2 separate regions of the Homo sapiens genome follow, and region 1 is linked to region 2. Evidence: promoter capture Hi-C in 16 types of primary human blood cells and fetal thymus (Javierre and others, 2016). All regions are on one chromosome and are shown on one strand. Each heading gives the region's core, a stretch centred on a gene start or on the middle of the fragment in contact. The rest is flanking DNA. Distances are from core to core; before and after follow the strand shown.

Region 1 (3,619 bases), core at 883-3,382, 370 kb after region 2:
AAAGCTTTTCTTAAGGACTTCAGACAAATGGATCAACAGACAAGGTATCACATATACTCCCAAAATAAGGCAGAGTTATCTCCCGAAACTATCCCCTTAGGGATGCTCACCTTATATTTGAAACATTACACTCTTTCAGGATATACTAAATGCTGTCGGTAACCTGAAAAGAATACAAGTTATTGTTCTGTGGAAACATTATTAGCCTCAAACAACCTTAAGCAATGCTAATATTGTGGCTGGTAGGATAAGTTGTAAAGGAGGCACATTAACAGTCACGGTCTCTAGGATTATAAAGCTACAGTTACAAGTATTTGGTGTCACTGGAAAGAAGCCTGTTAAAAATCGAAAGCAATGCTCTGTGGATTCTGAAAAGCAGCTGCCCTAGTGCTACCTACACACAGGCATACTTGTGGCTTGGGATAAATGTCCACCAACAGCATCATACATAGACCCCGAAACTGCTGCATCCCAAACAACTTAGAAAGAAAAAAGATCATCTGCTCTTAACCTATTAGGGGATGCCAAAGGGGGCACCAAGATCAAATACGAAGTCGGAGTGACATGCCTGAAATGCGAATGTGAAGAGGGAAAGCCCACATGCTGGTTAATAGATTAACAAATCTGAAACACCTGCAACTAATAGTACAGGTGTCTATTTTATCCTCTCATCTACAATCCTAAACTTTATATATGTAAGTTGGCTAAAAAAAAGTTTTCTGGGATCTTCACATTGGAAGGTAAGGGGTGGCCTGTTTAGCTACCTTATAGACAAACATACTAAAGCTATAAAAACAGTGCCATGAAATAATTTTTTTTAAAGTGACTACCCTAAAAAAAAATCATTAAAAAACAAGATTCCTTTCTCACCGGTGATTTTTGGAAGCAATTCACTGATTTAGAGGCAGTTATCATCCGGTTATGTGAGATCTAGGATTTATTCACTCACGGCTCTTGTATTAGAATGTTAAGATTCTCCAGCAAAAAATGAAGTTTATATTCTTCAAACCTTTTAGAAAAATAAAACTTTCAACTGATCCTGTTGCCTCAGCCTCCCAAAAGTGCTGGGATTACAAGTATGAGTCATTGCACCCAGCCACAAAAATAAAACTTTTCAACAAATGTAAACCATACTGAGGTCCATGAATATGTGCCAAGAGGAAGGTGTTGATGGTCGAGAATTTCATCACAAATTAATCCAACTCGTTCCGAAGATAAATTTGACCACATAAAATGAAGAGGCAAGTAGGTGTTTACGCCCTGTGACCCAGTAATTGTACTTCTAGGTTTCAGCAATTAAATAGAATGACATCATTATGATACTCCATTCAACGAGTTATGCAGCTATCTTTAAATGGCAAATGTTAAAACTACATGTAAGTTCTTTGTAACGCATAGAGGACTGGAGAATATTTTAAAACAGCTACCATGTGACATGGCAAAAATTGAAAGTGAGTCTTTTCCAAAACTTTTGACAATATTGTCTTAGCACTACTTTTATAGTAAAAGAAAAGAAAAAGGTTTCACCTTCCACTCCTAGATTGTATAAGCACAGGAGAAAATAAAAGGTATACACTAGTTTTTTTGTGTGTTGTTGTTTGAGATGGTCTCGCTCTGTGGCTCAGGCTGGAGTATGGTGGCGCAAGCATAGCTCATTGCAGCCTCAAACTCCTGGCTACAAGTGATCCCTCAGCTTCAGCCACGTGAGTAGCAGCTACAGGTGTGCATCACCACATCTGGCTTAAATTATTTTTGTAGAGATGAGAGTCTTGCTATGTTGTCCAGGCTGGTCTTGAACTCCTGGCTTTAAGCAATCCTCCTGCCTCAGCCTCCTAAAGTACTGATTACAGGTGTGAGCCACTGCACTGGGTCCCACACTACACTGCTAACATGTTATTGATTGGGTTTGGAGGGGAAGACAACTTTATTATATATCTTTTAAATTGTCTGAACTCTTAATAAACATTTTTTTAAAATGACAGAATTTAAAGCATTTTCTGAACACCCTTACCATAAAATACAATCACAAATTGGTGATTTGGCCTATGTGAATTAAAAAATACTAAATATCTCCCACCTACCATAGTAAGTGTCCAAAGCACTGCAGTAGCTTTCACTAATCCAGTCTGTTCTGGACTCCAGGCCATCTATCTTGCTGGCAGACTTCGGGATCGCTGTTTGTGTAGCAACACAAGGCACATCCCAGCAACGCCACACACAAACATGTGAGCAGAAAACTAATAACCACCGGTAGCCTGTGTAAAACATCAGAACAAAGCCAATCTTTGTATTCTTTCTTTTTTATTTATAAATAAACTATTTTTGTGGTTAAACCCACTTTTCCTTCAAATAGCTTTTTGGGTTATTTCCAAATTAATCATAAAAAACCCTTTCTCCCAACAGAACGGAAAGCATTTTACAGGAAAACATTGATGGGCTCCGGGATCCCAAGATGTGCACCAGATACTGAGTGTTCAGACAGAAGGGACAACTCTAATTCTAGTCTTGGAGTACAAAGATGTCAGTGAATAAGAATCATCCAAAGAAGCTGAAGCATTCATTATTTTTTCACTCTTATTTGAGATCTCCTGGAGGTGTGTTTACAGATTGGGAAAGATTCAAGGAACCTGTTTGGAACAAACCCCTCCAAATGATCCGAATTAAAGGTCATTCTAGGAGCCTGGTAGAAATGCTGGAAGGTTAGGGTCTAGGAGACAAAGGTCACTCGAGTTGCTGCTTCTTATCTTATGAAAGGGAAGAATTGCTTGTTCCTTTAAGATAACTGAGAATAAATTAATCAAACTTAAGAACTGTTTTTTAAACTATAAACAGTAAGCAATCATTTTAAAACTCAATTATCTACCCAAATGTTCACAGCAGCATTATTCATAATAGCTTAAAAAGTGCAAAAAACCTAAATGTCCCTCAATGGATGAATGGATAGAGAAAATAAGAGGATTACTCATACAATGGAATATTACTTAGCAATAAAAAATGAAGTAGTGATACATGCTAAAACATGGATGAACCTTGAAAATGGACTGCTTAATTAAAGAAGCCACTAAAAGACAACCACATTCCACTTACATAAAATGCTCAGAACAGACAAACCCAGGGACAGAAGAAGTACATTAGTGGTTGCCGAGGGTGGGAAGGGCTTATATAATATGATTTCTTTGTGGGGTGATGAAATGGCCTAAAATTAGATTATAGTGATGGTTGCAAAACTTTTTAATACATTGAAAACCACAGAACTATAAATGAGTGAATTTTATGGTATGTAAACTATATCTCAAACTTTCAAAAAAAGAATTCATTACTAACTTTCTGATTTTAAAAAATAAAATCTTCCTGCCTCTCAAGAGCAGCCCAAAAGAAAAATAACAAAAAAATAAAATCTACAAACATAAACCTTATTAAGTGGAGGAAAAAGCTACAGTAATGTAACTGTTAAACAATTCAATTACCTAAAAGTTCTCCAGTTAATAGTCAAATAGATTTTAAATCCAGTTATGCCTTCAAAAAAATCCACGCTTTGACCTAACAGTTCAAAACTCCAAATGCATAACATTTTGTTATTAAGCATGCAACATAAATAAACGCCTTTTAATCCTTGATA
Region 2 (3,820 bases), core at 981-3,480:
GCAGCAGCAGCAGCCAGCTGGGAGATTTATGGAGATATAATGTGACCTCTTTATTGCCCTGAATGCTAGGGAGGCATTTCAGGGGAGATTTACGCCTTTCAGAAGAGGAGGCGAGCAAGGGTGTAGAAATTTATACGTGGGGACTGTTTTCCCCTCTCGGGGGTGTCTGGGGGATTACTTAATCAAACCGAGGTTAAGCTCCAATCGCCATCACTTTACATCTTCTTCTCCTGCTAATCCACCGAGTCACCCTGCTACCCTGAAAGCTTTTTGCATGAAATATGGAGTCTAAGCCAAGTTGCAAGGGATCTGTTTAGTTCTAAGTTCAGTTAACACAAAACAAAACAAAAAATAAGAATGAAGACCACATTACCAGGGCCAGGAGACAATGCCCTGCAGTCGTGGACCTGGGCAGCACACATTTTGCCTATATAGGCCTCAGATCTTCTTTGTAAAAGGAAGGTGTTAGACCAGATGACTTAGGTGCTTCCTAGTGTGAAAAGAATCTAGATAATATCAGATCAAATGCTAACGCTATACCTTACTCTGCACCAGTGATTCTTCTGTCACTTTTTTTTTAAGCTGCAGAACTCTTTCTTCAAAGAAAATCTAATCTGAGGAAGCCCAACATTAAAGACAGAGGAATGCAATTGACTGGGTGAAAGGGTGGCTCCGCCTTCTGCCCACCACTCCTCCAGGTCCACATCCACACCCCCCGGGGTCTTGACGAAGGTCCTCCAGCCTCTAGAGGGCGCCCTGGGCTGCAGAGTTCCTGCCAAGCGCTGCTCAGGGCTCTCCTGATGCAGTGAACGGGGTCCGCCCCTGGCTTCGCTATCAGAAGCCACGCAGACCAGACTTAAAGGCAGAGGCAGGGGCAATTCCAGACGCAAGTAGAGGTGGACGCCTTAGCCAACAGTCATTTCACCTCTCTTGGTCTGGTCTCCACAACTCAAAAGTGCAGTAGTTGGAACAGATGATTTCTAGGCTCCTACCTGTGAAAGCATTCAACGTGGCACTGCATTCTAACTCTCATTTATGTTTTTAGTCCCTGTCCCCTTCAATTTGTGTTTAAATTACGCAATTTTTAATTGCTACAAAAATTCAAACAGGCCAGGCATGGTGGCTCTGGCCTGTAATCCCAGCCCTTTGTGAGGTCGGAGTATGGCTTGAGCTCAGGAGTTCAATACCAGCCTGGGCAACATAGTAACACCACATCTCTTAAATAAAATAATAATTAGCTGGGCTTGGTGGCCCTCGCCTGTAGTCTCAGCTACTCCAGAGGCTGAGGTAGGAGGATCACTTGAGCCTGGGACTTCAGGCCTGCAAGCGAGTTATGATCGCACCACCACACTCCAACCTGGGTGACAAAGCAAAACCCTATCTCAAAAAAAAATTTTTTTTTTCAAACAGGCAAACGGTACAGAAGAATGTCACGTAGAAACAAAAGGTCTCAGCTAGGCGCGGTGGCTCACGCCTGTAATCCCAGCATTTTGGGAGGCCGAGGCGGGCGGATGACCTTAGGTCGGGAGTTCGAGACCAGCCTGACCAACATGGAGAAACCCCATCTCTACTAAAAATACAAAATTAGCCAGCGTGGTGGCACATGCCTGTAATCCCAGCTACTGGGGAGGCTGAAGCAGAAGAATCGCTTGAACCCGGAAGGAGGAGGTTGCAGTGAGCCGAGATTGCACCATTGCACTCCAGCCTGGGCAATAAGAGCAAAACTCCGTCTCAAAAAAGAAAGAAAGAAAGAAACAAACAAACAAACAAAAAGTCTCCACCATCACCATGATCCCATCTCCAGGGGCAGAGGTGGCTAACAATTTTCCTGTTTTTCCAGATATCTTCCACTGCATTAATTAACATTTTTATTTTTAGAAATTTTAAAATTACATAAAAACACAAAGGACACTGTAACAATTCTGTTTATTCCCCCACCATCTGCTATCCAATCACTATATTGAATTTAGTGTATATCCTTCCAATTAATCTATATACTTCTACACACAGGGATAAATGTTCCTCTGAAGAACATAAGCATTGCTTTGCAATTTTAAAGATTTACATGAATGCTTTCTTTAAAAAATATGAAATATTTCAGTCACTGAGAAAAAAATATATAGCAAACACTCTTAAACCCACCACCAGCTTTTTCAAATCTTTGTTTTACCATATTTCCTTCAGATGTTTTTAAAGAAATACAACATTGCAGATACAGTAGATGCCTCTGTGTAACCCACAATTCCAGTCTCTTTTTTGCCTATTATGTTTCCCAGTTTTAATTATACATGTGGATCTGCTTTATTTGAGTTGATTTACAGTTTTCCATTATATTAATAAATCACATTTTACTTGTTCATTTCTTTATGGTTATGGACTAAACGTCTGTGAATAACCCAAATTTAGATCTTGCAATCCTAACCCACATGTGATGGTATTTGGAGGTTGGGCATTTGGGAGGTGAACAGGCCATCGGACGGAGCCCTCATGAATGGGATTAGTACCCTTATAAGAAGAGACAGAGGCTGGGCACGGTGGCTCACTCTTGTAATCCCAGCCCTTTCGGAGGCCGAGGCAGGGGGATCACCTGAGGTCAAGAGTTCGAGACCAGACTGACCAACATGGTGAAACCCCCCCATCTCTACTAAAGATACAAAAATTAGCCGAGCATGGTGGTGCATGCCTGTAATCCCAGCAACTCAGGAGGCTGAGGCAGGAGAATTGCCTGAACCCAGGAGGCGGAGGTTGCAGTGAGCCGAGGTTGCGCCATTGCATTCCAGCCTGGGCAACAAGAGCAAAACTCTGCCTCAAAAAAAAGAAAAGAAAAGACAGAATAGATATCTCCCTACACCCACCCCATGAGTGGATGCAGTGAGATGATGGTCTTCTGCAAAGCAGGCTTGGGTCTCTCACCAGACACCAATCTGCCAGTGCCGTGATCTTGGGCTTCCTGGCTTCCAGAACTTTGAGAAATAAGCGTTGTTAAAGCCACACATTCTATGGTATTCTGTTACAGCAACCTAAACTGGCTAAGACACTTACTGATATATATTCAGATTGTTTTCAGTTTTTTGCTGTAATAGCAATGCTTCATCAGGCATCCTTGTACATGTCTGTTTATACACATGAGAAAAGTGTATCTAGGATATAGGAGATATATTTTAGCCATGTTCAAATGTATATGTATAAAACACTTATGCTTGGTTTGGTGCTGTTTAAGCTGTTATGCTGTAACAAACAAATAGTTATTTGTTTGCTGTTCACATTACATGTCAGCTGCAAGTTGGCCGAAATTCTATATGTATGCTTCAATTGGACATGCAGGCCGAAGGCAAAACCTCTATGTGGTTCATGCCAGCCTCGTGGCAGGGGGCAAAAAGTAATGACAGAACCACGTAATGGCTCTTAATGCCTCTGTGTGGAAGTTGCATAGTGACTTCGAGTCACATATTCTTGATCAAAGCAAGTCTCATAGCCAAGCCTGTGTCATCGGGGTGGTGGAAATAATCCTCACCAGAAATGGGCTCCCTCAGTACAGGAAAGAACAGAGCAGTGTGCTGAACACACGTGGGATCATACCATGGATACTCCTCTGCAGCTGTTTCTGCAGGGACGCATATCTGTTTAGACATTTTTCCATATCAGCACAGATCTACTTCTCTCTTCGAAGAGGATTTATTAGTTTGGCATTGTTAAGGCACATAACACTTACATTCTACTCCATAATTCTCACAGCTGTTTAGCTGTACATGATATTTGAAAGGATTCAATGCTAATGCCAATCTTTTTATGCCACAGCCTCCCCATTCCTAATACCTTG

Evidence for each region. Contacts are between HindIII fragments. The CHiCAGO score rates a contact against its expected background, and 5 or more counts as called.
Region 1: the fragment with the promoter of FAM167A-AS1 here is called in contact with a fragment that was not itself captured in region 2 in 5 of 17 cell types (naive B cells, total B cells, M0 macrophages and 2 more); the score reaches 8.4 in naive B cells.

What each region holds. Positions count from the first base shown.
Region 1 is chr8:11,366,915-11,370,533 of GRCh38, reverse strand. It overlaps FAM167A-AS1 (FAM167A antisense RNA 1), which reads right to left and starts at 2,132. Exons shown (of 7, transcript NR_026814.1): 1 at 2,082-2,132. It also overlaps the pseudogene TDH. The HindIII fragment of the contact is 6,691 bases long and covers 7-3,619 here.
Region 2 is chr8:11,733,493-11,737,312 of GRCh38, reverse strand. All of the region lies in intron 2 of GATA4 (GATA binding protein 4), which reads right to left. Among named protein-coding and RNA genes, the nearest start is that of LINC02905, 26 kb to the left of the region's middle. RefSeq lists enhancers at 1-305, 864-913, 1,058-1,558. The HindIII fragment of the contact is 3,923 bases long and covers 269-3,820 here.